4 separate regions of the Homo sapiens genome follow, and all the other regions are linked to region 1. The links are contacts of gene promoters, found by promoter capture Hi-C in human tissues and cell types (Jung and others, 2019). All regions are on one chromosome and are shown on one strand. Each heading gives the region's core, a stretch centred on a gene start or on the middle of the fragment in contact. The rest is flanking DNA. Distances are from core to core; before and after follow the strand shown.

Region 1 (3,274 bases), core at 771-3,270:
CTCCTACTGCAGCCTCCCAAGTAGTTGGGGCCACAGGTATGCACCACCACGACAGGCAAGCTAATTTTTTTGTATTTTTTGTAGAGACTGGGTTTTGCCGTGTTGCCCAGGCTGGCCTTGAACTCCTGACCTCAAGTGATCTGCCCGTCTCCTGCCTCAGCCTCCTGAGTAGCTGGGATTACAGGAATGCACCACCACGCCCGGTTAATTTTTGTATTTTTAGTAGAGACGGGGTTTCTCCATGTTGGTCAGGCTGGTCTTGAACTCCTGACCTCAAGTGATCCGCCTGCCTTGGCCTCCCAAAGTGCTGGAATTACAGGCGTGAGCCACGGTGCCTGGCCTCTCCTCACCTGCTTTAATTCTTTACTCAAATGTCACCTTTTTACTTTGAGGTTTACTTTTACCTTTGGAGGTTTGGAGTAGAGGAGGGATACTATCTGTCTAAAAAGAAAAACAACATTTAGAAATATAACAGTATGGGCCGGGCATGGTGGCTCAGGCCTGTAATCCCAGGACTGTGGGAGGCCAAGATGGGCGGATCACTTGAGGTCAGGAGTTCGAGACCAGCCTGGCTAACATGGTGAAACCCCGCCCCCCACCCGTCTCTACTAAAAATACAAAAATTTTCCCAGGGTGGTGGCGGGTGCCTGTAATAACAGCTACTTGGGGGGCTGAGGCAGGAGAATCACTTCAGCCTGGGAGGAGGAGGCTGCAGTGAGCCGAGATTGCGCCACTGCATTCCAGCCTGGGCGACAGAGTCAGACTCTGTCTCAAAAAAAAAAAAGAACGGTATGAGCAAAGAGTGAGTAAGGCAGTTATCAGATGTCTACTTTGCCAGGAATCAGGCTACAGCAAATAAAGGTTTATACATAATATTGATAATAAATGCCCAGCTCTTCCCCTGTAAAACTCCAATACTCTAAGATTTTTTTCATGAACACCGCCCCCCGCTGCTCCGACCCCTGCTTTTTTATTTATTTATTTATTTATTTGGTAGAGATGAGGTCTCACTATGTTGACCAGGCTGGTCTCGAACTCCCAGCTCAAGCGATCCTCCTGCTTCTGCTTCCTAAAGTGCTGGGATTACACCGCGCTCGGTCCTGAACACACATTTTGTTTGTTTGTTTGTTTGTTTACAAAACCCCTGGAGAACCCGCGTATTCTAACCTGGGCTGGTTTTTGTATTTTTGCAAAATAACACCCCACACATTCTCGTATCAGCGTGCAGATTTTTTTGCACCCAGTTTGGTTGTTTGCGGCCATAAGCTTTTCTTTAAGCCTTTCCAACCCGTCCTTCTAGAGAAAGTGTCTTCATAAGGAAGTCACACTGCTCACGCCTGTAATCCCAACACTTTGGGAGGCCGAGGCGGGTGGATCACTAGGTCCGGAGATCGAGACCATCCTGGAAAACACAGTGAAACCCCGTCTCTACTAAAAATACAAAAAATTAGCCGGGCGTAGTGGTGGGTGCCTGTAGTCCCAGCTACTCCGAAGGCTGAGGCAGGAGAATGGCGTGAACCCGGGAGGCGGAATTTGCAGTGGGCCGAGATCGCGCCACTGCACTCCAGCCTGGGCGACAGAGTGAGACTCCGTCTCAAAAAAAAAAAAAAAATAAATAAATAAAAAATAAATAAAAGGAAGTGACACTGGATAATTAAGAGACACACCATTGCGCCTTTAACACATATTCACACCCAGCACTGTCACATCCATCGTGCCTTGAGGACAGGCATAAATTTACGGCCTTCCTCCTGCGCTCCCGGCCTGCTCCTAGCCTTTGACTAGAGCCTGCGCAGCATCCCAGTCCCAGGCTAGGGCCCACCGGTGCCGCGCAGCCTCCTGGAAGCTGTGGGGAGTAGCGTTCCTCCGCTCCAGAACTACAACTCCCAGCAGGCCTTGCTCCTCTCCACCTCCCTCGCAGCGCATGGCCTGCCGGGAGGGGGCAGGTAGCCGGCGGGCCCGGTCCAATGGGTGCCGGCTTCCGAGGAGAGGGCGGAGGAGAGGAGGAAGGAGGCGAACTGTGGGCCCCGGCCCCATTCATTGCCGTGGCCGGCGGGCACTGGGGCCCCGTGTTTTCAGAGTCATGGAGGCGCTAATTCCTGTCATAAACAAGCTCCAGGACGTCTTCAACACGGTGGGCGCCGACATCATCCAGCTGCCTCAAATCGTCGTAGTGGGAACGCAGGTGAGAGCAGCAGGCGGCGTTCGCTCGGGCCAGACCCCGGCCGCAGGCCTGGTCGGTGCTGCGGCAGTGCCCACTCCCGCGCCAGCGCCCACTCCCGCGCCAGCCTTTGGGGCCTGTGGGAGGAGGGCCTTGCTGGGGGCCCCAGGGCTCTCCGGGCTCTGCCGCACCCGCCCTCCCGGGGCAGCGTTGCATCAAGGCGGAGAATCCGGGGCCCGGCCAGGGGCGGAGCCGGCGCGGCGGGCCTGGCTAGCCCGGCGGGTCCCGGGGACAGGAGAGGGAAGGATGGGGCCGGCGGGCGGAACTGGAGTCCGCTGGGACCGGGCGCGGCCTCGTCCGCGTGCCGCTGCCTCCAAGGGCACCTGGGGGACGCGCGGGGCACTCGGGTCTCGCTGGGCTCGGTGGGCTGGCTGTTCCCATCACTGTTGGCTTTCGTGAGACGGGTGTTTTATTTCCCTCCTTGCCTTGCCCAGGGACTGCGGAGTTAGTTTTGGAATCGCTCTGTTGAGGCTGAGAGACGCTACGGTGCGTGAGCGCCAGTGTTTTCCTGCAGTATAATTCCACCAGGTTTCGAGAACGCCGAAGCAGCATTTTAAAAAAAGAAAAACAAAACGTGTATCTAGAGTTCTGCGGGTGTTGGGAAGGAATATCCGATTTTTCTGCGTAGGCTGTGCTTTTTGTCTTCCACAGTTTTGTGATCGTGACCTAAATTGGGCATCAGTTTCTCTGGTCTTCTCATAGCTAACTCATTTTTTTTTGAATGCAGAAATGTTGGCAAAATAACTGTTATTTCTAGAGTGACAGAGGAGAAGTATAATTTTCCTTTTCTCTGCTACTTCGATTAGAGTTCAGAGAAACGGATTTTAGAAATTAGTATATTGATATTAAGTGCTTTCATTTCTTAATAGTATCTTTTCTATTGAGAAGGAGCGGTTTCCCCATCATTTTCCAGGAGGTACATAGTATAGGGTATAAGTGCTATCAGAAGGAACTTACTGTTCAAAGTATTAGTGGCTATCCAAACACTGGAAACTATAGACACCCTGTACTCGTTTGTTTGTTTGTTTGTTTTTTTGGCTTTTAAATAGTTGA
Region 2 (3,094 bases), core at 426-2,925, 330 kb before region 1:
GAATAGGAATGTTTAAATATGTCCCAAGTTACAATTCAGTTACATATTTCATCAGCCAGCATGTCCTGTGCACACACGACCTGCTCTTACTGCTTTCCATGTTCTGTATGTGGAAGGAGATCAGTCAATCTTGAACTCATGGCCTCAGTATTTTGTACTTTATAATTTATATTTTTTCCTATAGAGGCTTTTCTATTTATGTGTATTCCACTTCCCCATATCACTAAACTGTCTTTTTCCACAGGATTCAATTCTTGAACTAGTAGGAGTGAAGGGCAGTCTGTTGAAACCTGTAATCTCTTAGGCTTGTATTTTCTTTGAACATAGTTTCCACAGAATTCTTCCCTGTAGGGGAAGGCCTGGGCACTTCTTGATGTCAGAACATGTTGTCTTTAGTTTGGAATCTGCCAAAACAAAAGTTAAATCAAAAATGTTAATTCCTGTCACCCCAGCACTTCGGGAGGCCAAAGCAGGAGGATTGCTTGAGCCCAGGAGTCCGAGACTGGCCTGGGTAACATAGCGAGACCTCGTCTCTACATTAAAATTTAAAAATTAGCTGGATGTGCTGGCATGCACTCATAGTCCCAGCTGCTCAGGAGGCTAAGGCGGGAGGATTGCTTGAGTCTGGGAGGTCGAGGCTGCAGTGAGCCACTGCACTCCAGCGAGTGATGGAGTGAGACCCTGTCTCAGAAAAAAAAAAAAAAAGAAGAAAAAATATATTAATTCACAAAATTGTCAACCACATGTTGAGAAATACATTTTTATACTTGCTGTATATTTTTCAATAGGTAATGGTTCAAAAATTTTAAAGTACAAAGGGTATACAGTAGATGGTAGATTTCTGCCACAACTGTGCCCACCCAACCTTTTGTATTTTTCCAGAAACATTCTATACATATATAAGGAAATGCATATAAATATATACATATATAAAAACATATGCATTTTACATATGTGTTAATACCATTGGCACAACCACAGACATTATGCATGCCGGTTTTTTTCACTTGATGTATCTGGGTTCTTCTTTCCTATACATTTATCTTTTTGTTTCTTTTGAGTCAGAAGAAGTTATGAAGGGGAAGGAAGACATGCTTGAGCTCTTTAAGAAAGCTTGGAATGTTTCTATGTGTGCAATAGAAATATTTCTTGCCAAATGATAAAATGACAGCTACAAGAATGTTTCTATTCAGAACTATTCAATAGAAATATGATATAAACCATATATGTAAATTTAAATTCTCTAGTAGTCTAGTAGTCATGTTAGAAAAAGTAAAAAGAAGTCAGGCACCATGGCTCACGCCTATAATCCCAGCACTTTGGGAGGCCAAAATGAAGGATCACTTGAGCCCAGGAGTTCAAGACCAGCCTGGGCAACATGGCGAAACCATGTCTCTACAAAAAATAAAAAGATTATTCGGGCATAGTGGCATGCGCCTGTACTCTCAGCTACTCAGGAGGCTGAGATGGGAGGATTGCTTGAGCCCAGGAGATTGAGGCTGCAGTGAGCCATGATCGTGCAACTGCACTCCAGGCTGGGTGACAGAGCAAGACCCTGTTTCAAAAAATAAATAAAAAGAAACAAGTGAACTTAATTTTAGTAGTAGATTTTAATTGACACACTATATCCATAATGTGATCATTTCAACATGGAATTCATAGGTGGCTAACACCTATAATTCCACTTTGGGAGGCCGAGGTGGGTGGATCCCTTGAGGCCAAGAGTTCGAGACCAGCCTGGGCATCATGGTGAAACCCTGTCTCTACAAAAACTACAAAAATTAGCCAGGCATGGTGGTGCATGCCTGTAGTTCCACCTACTCAGGAGGCCAAGGTGTGGGGATCGCTTGAGCCCAGGAAGCAGAGGTTGCAGTGAGCCAGGATTGTGCTAGTTCTTTCCAGCCTGGGTGACAGAGTGAGACCCTGTCAAAAAAAATATATATATACGTGTATATATATATATATATATATATATATATATATATATATATATATACGTGTATATATATATATATATATATATATACGTGTATATATATATATATATACGTGTATATATATATATATATATACACACACACACGCACACACACACATACACATACATACACATTCTGTTTTTCTTATTCAGTCTTTGAAATTCAGTATTATGCACTTACAGCATATCTTGATTTGAACTAGCCACATTTCAAATGCTCAACAGCCTAATTTCGCTAAGGGCTACTGTGTTGGACGGTGCAGTTCTAGAACTTCTTAGTTTTAACTAGATAGAATTTCCACACAGAAATCTAAATTTGAATAACTAATGACTGATTTTAAAATAAAATTTAAGATGGCATGTATTTCGGTTTTATTTCTTTTCTTTTCTTTTTTTTTTTTTTTAAGACAGAATCTTGCTCTTGTTGCCCAGGCTGGAGTGCAATGGCACAATATTGCCTCACCGCAACCTCCGCCTCCCAGGTTCAAGCGATTCTCCTGCCTCAGCCTCCCAACTAGCTAGGATTACAGGTATGTGCCACCATGCCTGGCTAATTTTGTATTTTTAGTAGAGACAGGGTTTCTCCATGTTGGTCAGGCTGGTCTTGAATTCCTGACCTCAGTTGATCCTCCTGCCTCAGCCTTCCAAAGTGCTGGGATTACAGGCATGAGCCACTGCGCCCTGCCCTCATTTTTCTTTTAAACTGACATAGACCAAAGTGCTATTTTGCTGATTCTGCTTTGTCTCTGATTGGTGGCAGTGCTTTTTAAAATAGATACATATTAAATGTTTGAGCCAGGCGTGGTGGCTCATGCCTGTAATCCCAGCACTTTGGGAGGCTGAGGCGGGCAGATCACAAGGTCAAGAGATCGAGACCATCCTGGCCAACATGGTGAAACCCCGTCTCTACTAAAAATACAAAAATTAGCTGGGCATGGTGGTGCGTGCCTGTAATCCCAGCTACTTGGGAGGCTGAGGCAGGAGAATCGCTTGAACCCAGGAGGTGGAGGTTGCAGTGAGCTGAGATCACGCCATTGCACTCCAGCCTGGGCAACAAGAACGAAACGCCATCTCAATTAAAAAAAAAGAAAAAGTTTGTACCTATATACCCTTTTC
Region 3 (3,152 bases), core at 396-2,895, 480 kb before region 1:
GTATTACTTTCAAACTTGAGGACCCAGAATATAACTTATGATGATTTAAGTTTTCTTCCTTTTATTTACATTTTAATGATAAAGACACTCATTGGCCAAGACCCAGAAAAAAAGTTTAAATAAAAATTTACATTTTAATGATAAAGACACTCATTGGCCAAGACCCAGAAAAAATAGTTTACCTATATTTTATACGTGTTTGTTTAAAAAAAAAAAACACAATCTTTGAAAAATCTGGAGAATTTATTTCGGGTTATAATAGTCAGAAAATGTGTGCCTTTAAGTTTTGCTTCTGAATAGACATATTCTGCTAAGCAAGCAATCTCCTCTTAGACTGCTTGCTGAGCACATATACTTTCCGTATGCTGATTTTTAAAGTGTCTGTATTTGGTTGGTGGCTTTAGTAATAAGAGACTAGCTTTTAACACAGCCAGAAGAAGCTGATGTGAACCAGCAGAAATAACACTGATCATATATAATACTTATGGAACAGTGGTTGCCCACCATTTTTGAACCCAAGATTTCCTGACATTTATCACTGTGCCAACAAAAAGAAAAACTAGGAACCTGGGGAGGACTTAGAGAGAGGAAGCATGGACAGCTGCCAGCCTGGGCAGATGGCGTCTGTTTGGTTGAGACAGATTCACCAGGAAACAAGATCAGATCCTAGTTTGAGACCCAAAACCTGGTGAGTAAGAACAAGTGTTCAGGACTTCAAGGGGCCCAGTAGGCAATTGTGGGAAAAAATCTGGAGGTCCTGAACTTGCCCAAATTACAGGGGTAGGTGAGAAAAGGTAATCCAAGGGGTAATATTTTTTTCTGCTTTTTGGTGTTATCTATATTTTCTTTAACAATTATATATATTACTTAAAGGAAAAAACTCTAGGTCTTATATATTCCTGACTAAGCTTCATCAATATGTATTTGCTTCTTTTATACAAAGTAACATTGTTTTCATTTACAGATTGCCATTAGGATACCTTAGTAATGATGTCCAGTTATGATGCAGATATTTCAAAGTTTATTGTTTATTTATTTATTATTATTTTGGAGGCAGGGTCTTACTGTGTTGCCCAGGCTTGGGTACAGTGGTGTGATCTTGGCTCACTGCAGCCTCGACCTTCCAGGCTCAAGCAGTCCTCCCATCTCAGCCTCCCAAGTAGCTGGAACTACAGGTGTGCACCACCATGCCTGTCTAATTTTTATATTTTTTGTAGAGATGGGGTCTCGCCATGTTGCCCAGGCTGGTCTTGAACACCTGGGCTCAAGAGATCTGCCCGCCTCAGCCTCCCCAAATGCTGGGATTATAGGCGTGAGCCACCGCACCAGGCCCAAAGTTAAAATAACTTAATGAATAAGGTTTGGATGATGTCAGGTACCCCTTTTTTCTCAGGGGAACTGGCTCCTACTTAGATATCTTATGACCATTAGTGGGACATTATAGGATAGCCTAGAAACAGAAACACTCACGTCAGTGTGATTTATGGCTAAGCTGGCACTCGACATCAGTGGGATAGGAGGGGGTAATACATTAAATGGTGCATGGGAAATTGATTATTCGTTCAGAAAATAATTGAAATGGATCTGTACTTCATTTCATACACAAAAATCAATTTCAGGGAGATTAAGGGACTTAAGTTATAAAAGGCAAAACTTTGAAACTTTTGGAAATAGTATAGGAGAATAGCTTTATGACCTTGGAGGAGGGAAGGATTTACAAATAGTGTTAGCTATAAGGCAAAGGTTTGGTCATTGAGCCATCTTAAAATCAAGGAAATTACTTCATCAAAAGACATCGCTAAAAGAGTGGGAGAGAAAAACCACACACTGGGAGAAAATATGTGCCATACATATGTGTGGCAGGCACACCTGACAGCAACAACCGAAGCATACCCTGAGAATGACCCTATGGTCTAAGAAGAATGTGTGTTTGGAGTTCTCAGCTGAGGAACCTGGTAGTGGCCAACCCGGAGACTGATTCCTTGTCTATGAGGAACATCTGAACCCCCGGCCCATTTCGGATTAAAGGAGGGTTGCCAGGTGAAGGTTGCAGGAGGGGAGCTAAGTAAAAATGCTATATAAACTGCATACTTTTTAGAAACGGTAGTGGTTCGTCCATCCAGCCTGCTACCACTGGACCGCTGCATATGTAAGTCCCCTCGAGAAGCCCTATATCTCATTTGCCAGCTCTCGGTCTCTTCTTTGGCCTCTCTTCTTTGGCCTCTCGAACCTGTGCTATCCCTATCCAACTCAATAGGGGTCTGGCACAATAACATGTAACTAACAATTAGGAAACAGAAACCTGTCTTTTAGAATGTGGGACTTCTCTTCATCAAAAGCACTGTAAAATGAGTTAAGAAACAACCCATAAATACTTGAGGAAGATACTTGCCATACATGTAACTGACAAATTAATAAAGGAAAAAGGTACTCTGGAGAAAAATGAACAAAAGCCTTGAATAGAAACTACACAGAAGTGGAAATGTGAGGTTGGGCGTGGTGGCTCACACCTGTAATCCCAACATTTTGGGAGGCCTAGACAGGTGGATTGCTTGAGCCCAGGAGTTTGAGGCCAGCCTGGGCAACATGGTGAAACCCCATCTCTACAAAAAAATGCATAAATTAACTGGGTGTGGTGGCAGACATCTGTGGTCCCAGCTACTTGGGAGGCTGAGGTGGGAAGATTGCCTGAGCCTGGGAGGTGGAGGTTGCAATGAGCTGTGATCATGCCATTGCACTCTAACCTGGGCAACAGAGGAGACCCTGTCAAAAAAAAAAAAAAATGAAAATGTGAATGGTCAATAAAAATGTGAAACTACTTAACTTCATTAGTAATCAGGGAAATGCAAATGAGAAGCACCAGGTGATACTGTTTCACACTCTCCGGGGCGGCCAAAATTTTTAAGTCTTAACAAACAACCCTAACAATGTAGAGTCACAAACAGGAATCCTTAGACACTGCTGGTGGCAGTTGAATTAGTACAGCCACTTTGGAGAACTCTGCAGCCTTGTCAGGAAGAGTTGAAGCTGTGTGTAATCCACAACACTGCCCACACTCCACAGCAATGCTTCTCAAGCCTGGCATAATATATTAGCATCCCAAAATGAGCATGTTGGAAATACTTACACCTGGCCCTTACCCCAGACCTGTG
Region 4 (2,840 bases), core at 269-2,768, 300 kb before region 1:
ACATGTTCCCCAATTGAGAATTTTCCAGAATATTCTACTTAAGAAGAAGAAGAGCAATTAACTGCCTTTAGTGTAAGGGCGAGAGTGCATAGAAATATGCAATGTAAAATGTTTGCATGAATTATTTCACATCATGTAAGCTTTCCCATATTCATAAGATGAACACTATAGAAGTCTCATTTCTCTGTGATCTTCTGTCCATTAGGAAAGTAAGGAGATTGTTATCTATATCTAGTCTCCTTTCCATATTGAACTGCATGGCTCTAATCCTCAGTGTATTTTTATCCCTTCTCGAGTTATTTAAAATTTGCCCTATTTAAGCTGAAGCCTGGATAAACTGCTGAGCCAGATTATTCCTGTGATTGGAGTTTAATTGCTGTAGAACACTTGTTGAGAACACATTTTTTACTTTTTTTCTTTCAGAATTATTCCTCAATCATTGTTCTCTAATGAAAACACCGAGAAGTAAATCTGGTGCTTCTTAGTGTAAATATGTTTTTCTTTTTAAAAAGTCATTTTAAAACAAAGATGAGAGAACTATAAAGTAAGGGGAAATATCATTTTATTTAAAAATAATTATTCAATGATAGATAATGGAGATACAGAATGACTCATTGGGTTCATAGGTATGATTTGTGCAGCCAGTCTTAGAGGAAATACATCATTTTAACATTATTCCCACAAAATGTTAAAGCTCAATGGTTTGACTATGAGAGTCAAACAATTACTATTTGAAAATCTCTTATGACATTTTTATAATCTACTCTGTTTTTATTTGCATGATTATGCTTATGTGATGAACCATCCATGATTCTGATATTGTATTTCTTTCCAGTATTAACATGTGTATTGTGTGGCCAACTCTGATTTGTACACCGTATTATTGTTGTAATGATTCAACTGTTCCTACATTTAATTGCAGTTTAATTATTATGCCTTTTGGGGTTAAATGATGTGAAGTGTTTCCACCTACTGATAAATACCATATGAAAACACGACTAAAAGACTGATTTAAGAAACTTGTTATTTTTAAAAATATGAATTTCAAAAGAAATGTTCTCAAAGACACATGCATTTATTTTAAATTCAAAAAATTCTTATGAATTTATTATTGCTTGTACTTTAACTTTTTTTATTGTAGACAATCCTAAGTGAATAATGTCTCATGGGAGAACACATGATATGTGCTTGTATTTGTGTAATCTGATCATGCACTCAATGGTTGGAAAAGGCACTCCAGTGCTAAGAAAATAACCAGAAGCCAATATATCGATTCTTATATCTCGGTTTATGTTACCAACTGAATATGGTGTAATGCATAACTTTTTCCAGTAAATAAACTGGTTATTTTTTGTTCATTTCATTAATGCTGCCTTTTTATCAATTTGAGCAGTTTTTCTGTATGTCATTTTGATGTATACTTACAAAAAGGAAAAGACTATATGAATTCAGATGTGATCTATATGTTTATTCAAAGTAAGAACTTATTTGAACTAAAAACTAAATGCTTTGCTTTAACAACAATTCTATACATTCCTGGTAAGTAATGTGTATCAACTCTGCTCATTTCCTCCAGTTATCACCTCTTCTACTTGTAATCTTTTCTAGAAAGCTATTTTGGCAGGAGGATATACTTGGCTGAATTTGATTAGAAATGTACCAACATGAAGAAAATGCTTGCCCTAAAACAGGAAACATTATTTTGATGAAAGAAGAATGAAGTTTCTATGCATTATTTTGGGAGACAATTCCTCTTTGTTCTTTTTGGAACAGCAGAGTTCCAAAACTTTGAGGGAGGTTAATTTTCTAGCTCCTCCTACAAATACATATTGTAGTAAATCAGCTGCTTTGGGAACCATCCACTTTGATTCGATTTTATTTAAAGGGTGGAGGAGGGGGAGAGGCAGATAGAACATGGTGTTCTAGTGAGTTAAAACGTCTAATGCAATCCTCATTATAGCTAATCAAATTCGTGCAACACGGGCAGCCAACATCCTGGCAAAAGCTGTCTGCTCACCTGTTGCATAAATACAACACTAGAAATAATAATGTAAACTTTTCTACAAATTTCTCCTTTTTCTCTTCCAAAAGCTTTTGTTTTTCTTGGAGGTTGGATCTATAAGTCTATTTGATACTTGACTTTCTCTTACATGATAAAGCTGATAGTCTGCCACATTCAAAAGTGAAAACAGCTGGACGCATCAAGAAAGTCTCTTCTCATCTATACATTTTGCAGGCAACTTGGACAGCCTATATTGCAACCCACAAGGGATGAGAAAGAGAGCAGAATCGATGGGAACTTGTGGAAGGGATTTCCGTCTTCTTCTTCTTCTTCTTCTTCTTCTTCTTCTTCTTCTTCTTCTTCTTCTTTTCTTCTTCTTTCTTCTTCTCCTTCTCCTTCTCTTCTCCTCTTCTTCCTCTTCCTCTTCTTCCTTCTTCCTTCTTTCTTCTTCTTCTTCTTTTTTAAAGAGGGAGTCTTGCTCTGTCTCCCAGGCTGGAGTGCAGTGGCATGATCTTGGCTCACTGCAACCTCCGACTTCCTGGTTCAAGCTATTTTCGTGCCTCAGCCTCCTGAGTAGCTGGGATTACAGGCACGTACCACCATGCCCAGCTAATTTTTGTATTTTTAGTAGAGACGGGGTTTCACCATGTTGGACAGGATGGTCTTCATCTCCTGACCTCATGATCCACCCGCCTCGGCCTCCCAAAGTGCTGGGATTACAGGCGTGAGCCACCGCACCCAGCCGGATTTTTTTTTTCTTTTGAAACATGGCCTCACTCTGCCACCCAGGCAGGAGTGCAGTGGGATGATCTTGGCTCACTGCAGCCTCGACCCCCTG

Evidence for each region. The method cuts DNA at HindIII sites, captures the fragments that hold promoters and counts their contacts. A contact is called where the count stands out against the background at its distance.
Region 2: a contact is called between a fragment that was not itself captured here and the fragment with the promoter of DNM1L in region 1, in 1 of the 25 tissues and cell types used here (spleen).
Region 3: a fragment that was not itself captured here is called in contact with the fragment with the promoter of DNM1L in region 1 in 1 of the 25 tissues and cell types used here (hippocampus).
Region 4: a contact is called between a fragment that was not itself captured here and the fragment with the promoter of DNM1L in region 1, in 5 of the 25 tissues and cell types used here (H1 embryonic stem cells, IMR-90 fibroblasts, dorsolateral prefrontal cortex and 2 more).

The regions. Positions count from the first base shown.
Region 1 is chr12:32,677,281-32,680,554 of GRCh38, forward strand. It overlaps DNM1L (dynamin 1 like), which reads left to right and starts at 2,021. Exons shown (of 20, transcript NM_012062.5): 1 at 2,021-2,185. The coding sequence starts at 2,084. RefSeq lists a silencer at 2,169-2,578. The HindIII fragment of the contact is 15,512 bases long and covers 628-3,274 here.
Region 2 is chr12:32,344,587-32,347,680 of GRCh38, forward strand. The region is part of intron 8 of BICD1 (BICD cargo adaptor 1); the gene reads left to right. Among named protein-coding and RNA genes, the nearest start is that of FGD4, 53 kb to the right of the region's middle. The HindIII fragment of the contact is 6,116 bases long and covers 1-3,094 here.
Region 3 is chr12:32,201,579-32,204,730 of GRCh38, forward strand. All of the region lies in intron 1 of BICD1 (BICD cargo adaptor 1), which reads left to right. Among named protein-coding and RNA genes, the nearest start is that of BICD1-AS1, 96 kb to the left of the region's middle. The HindIII fragment of the contact is 5,748 bases long and covers 1-3,152 here.
Region 4 is chr12:32,382,271-32,385,110 of GRCh38, forward strand. It overlaps BICD1 (BICD cargo adaptor 1), which reads left to right. Exons shown (of 10, transcript NM_001714.4): 10 at 1-1,363. Among named protein-coding and RNA genes, the nearest start is that of FGD4, 16 kb to the right of the region's middle. The HindIII fragment of the contact is 5,533 bases long and covers 1-2,840 here.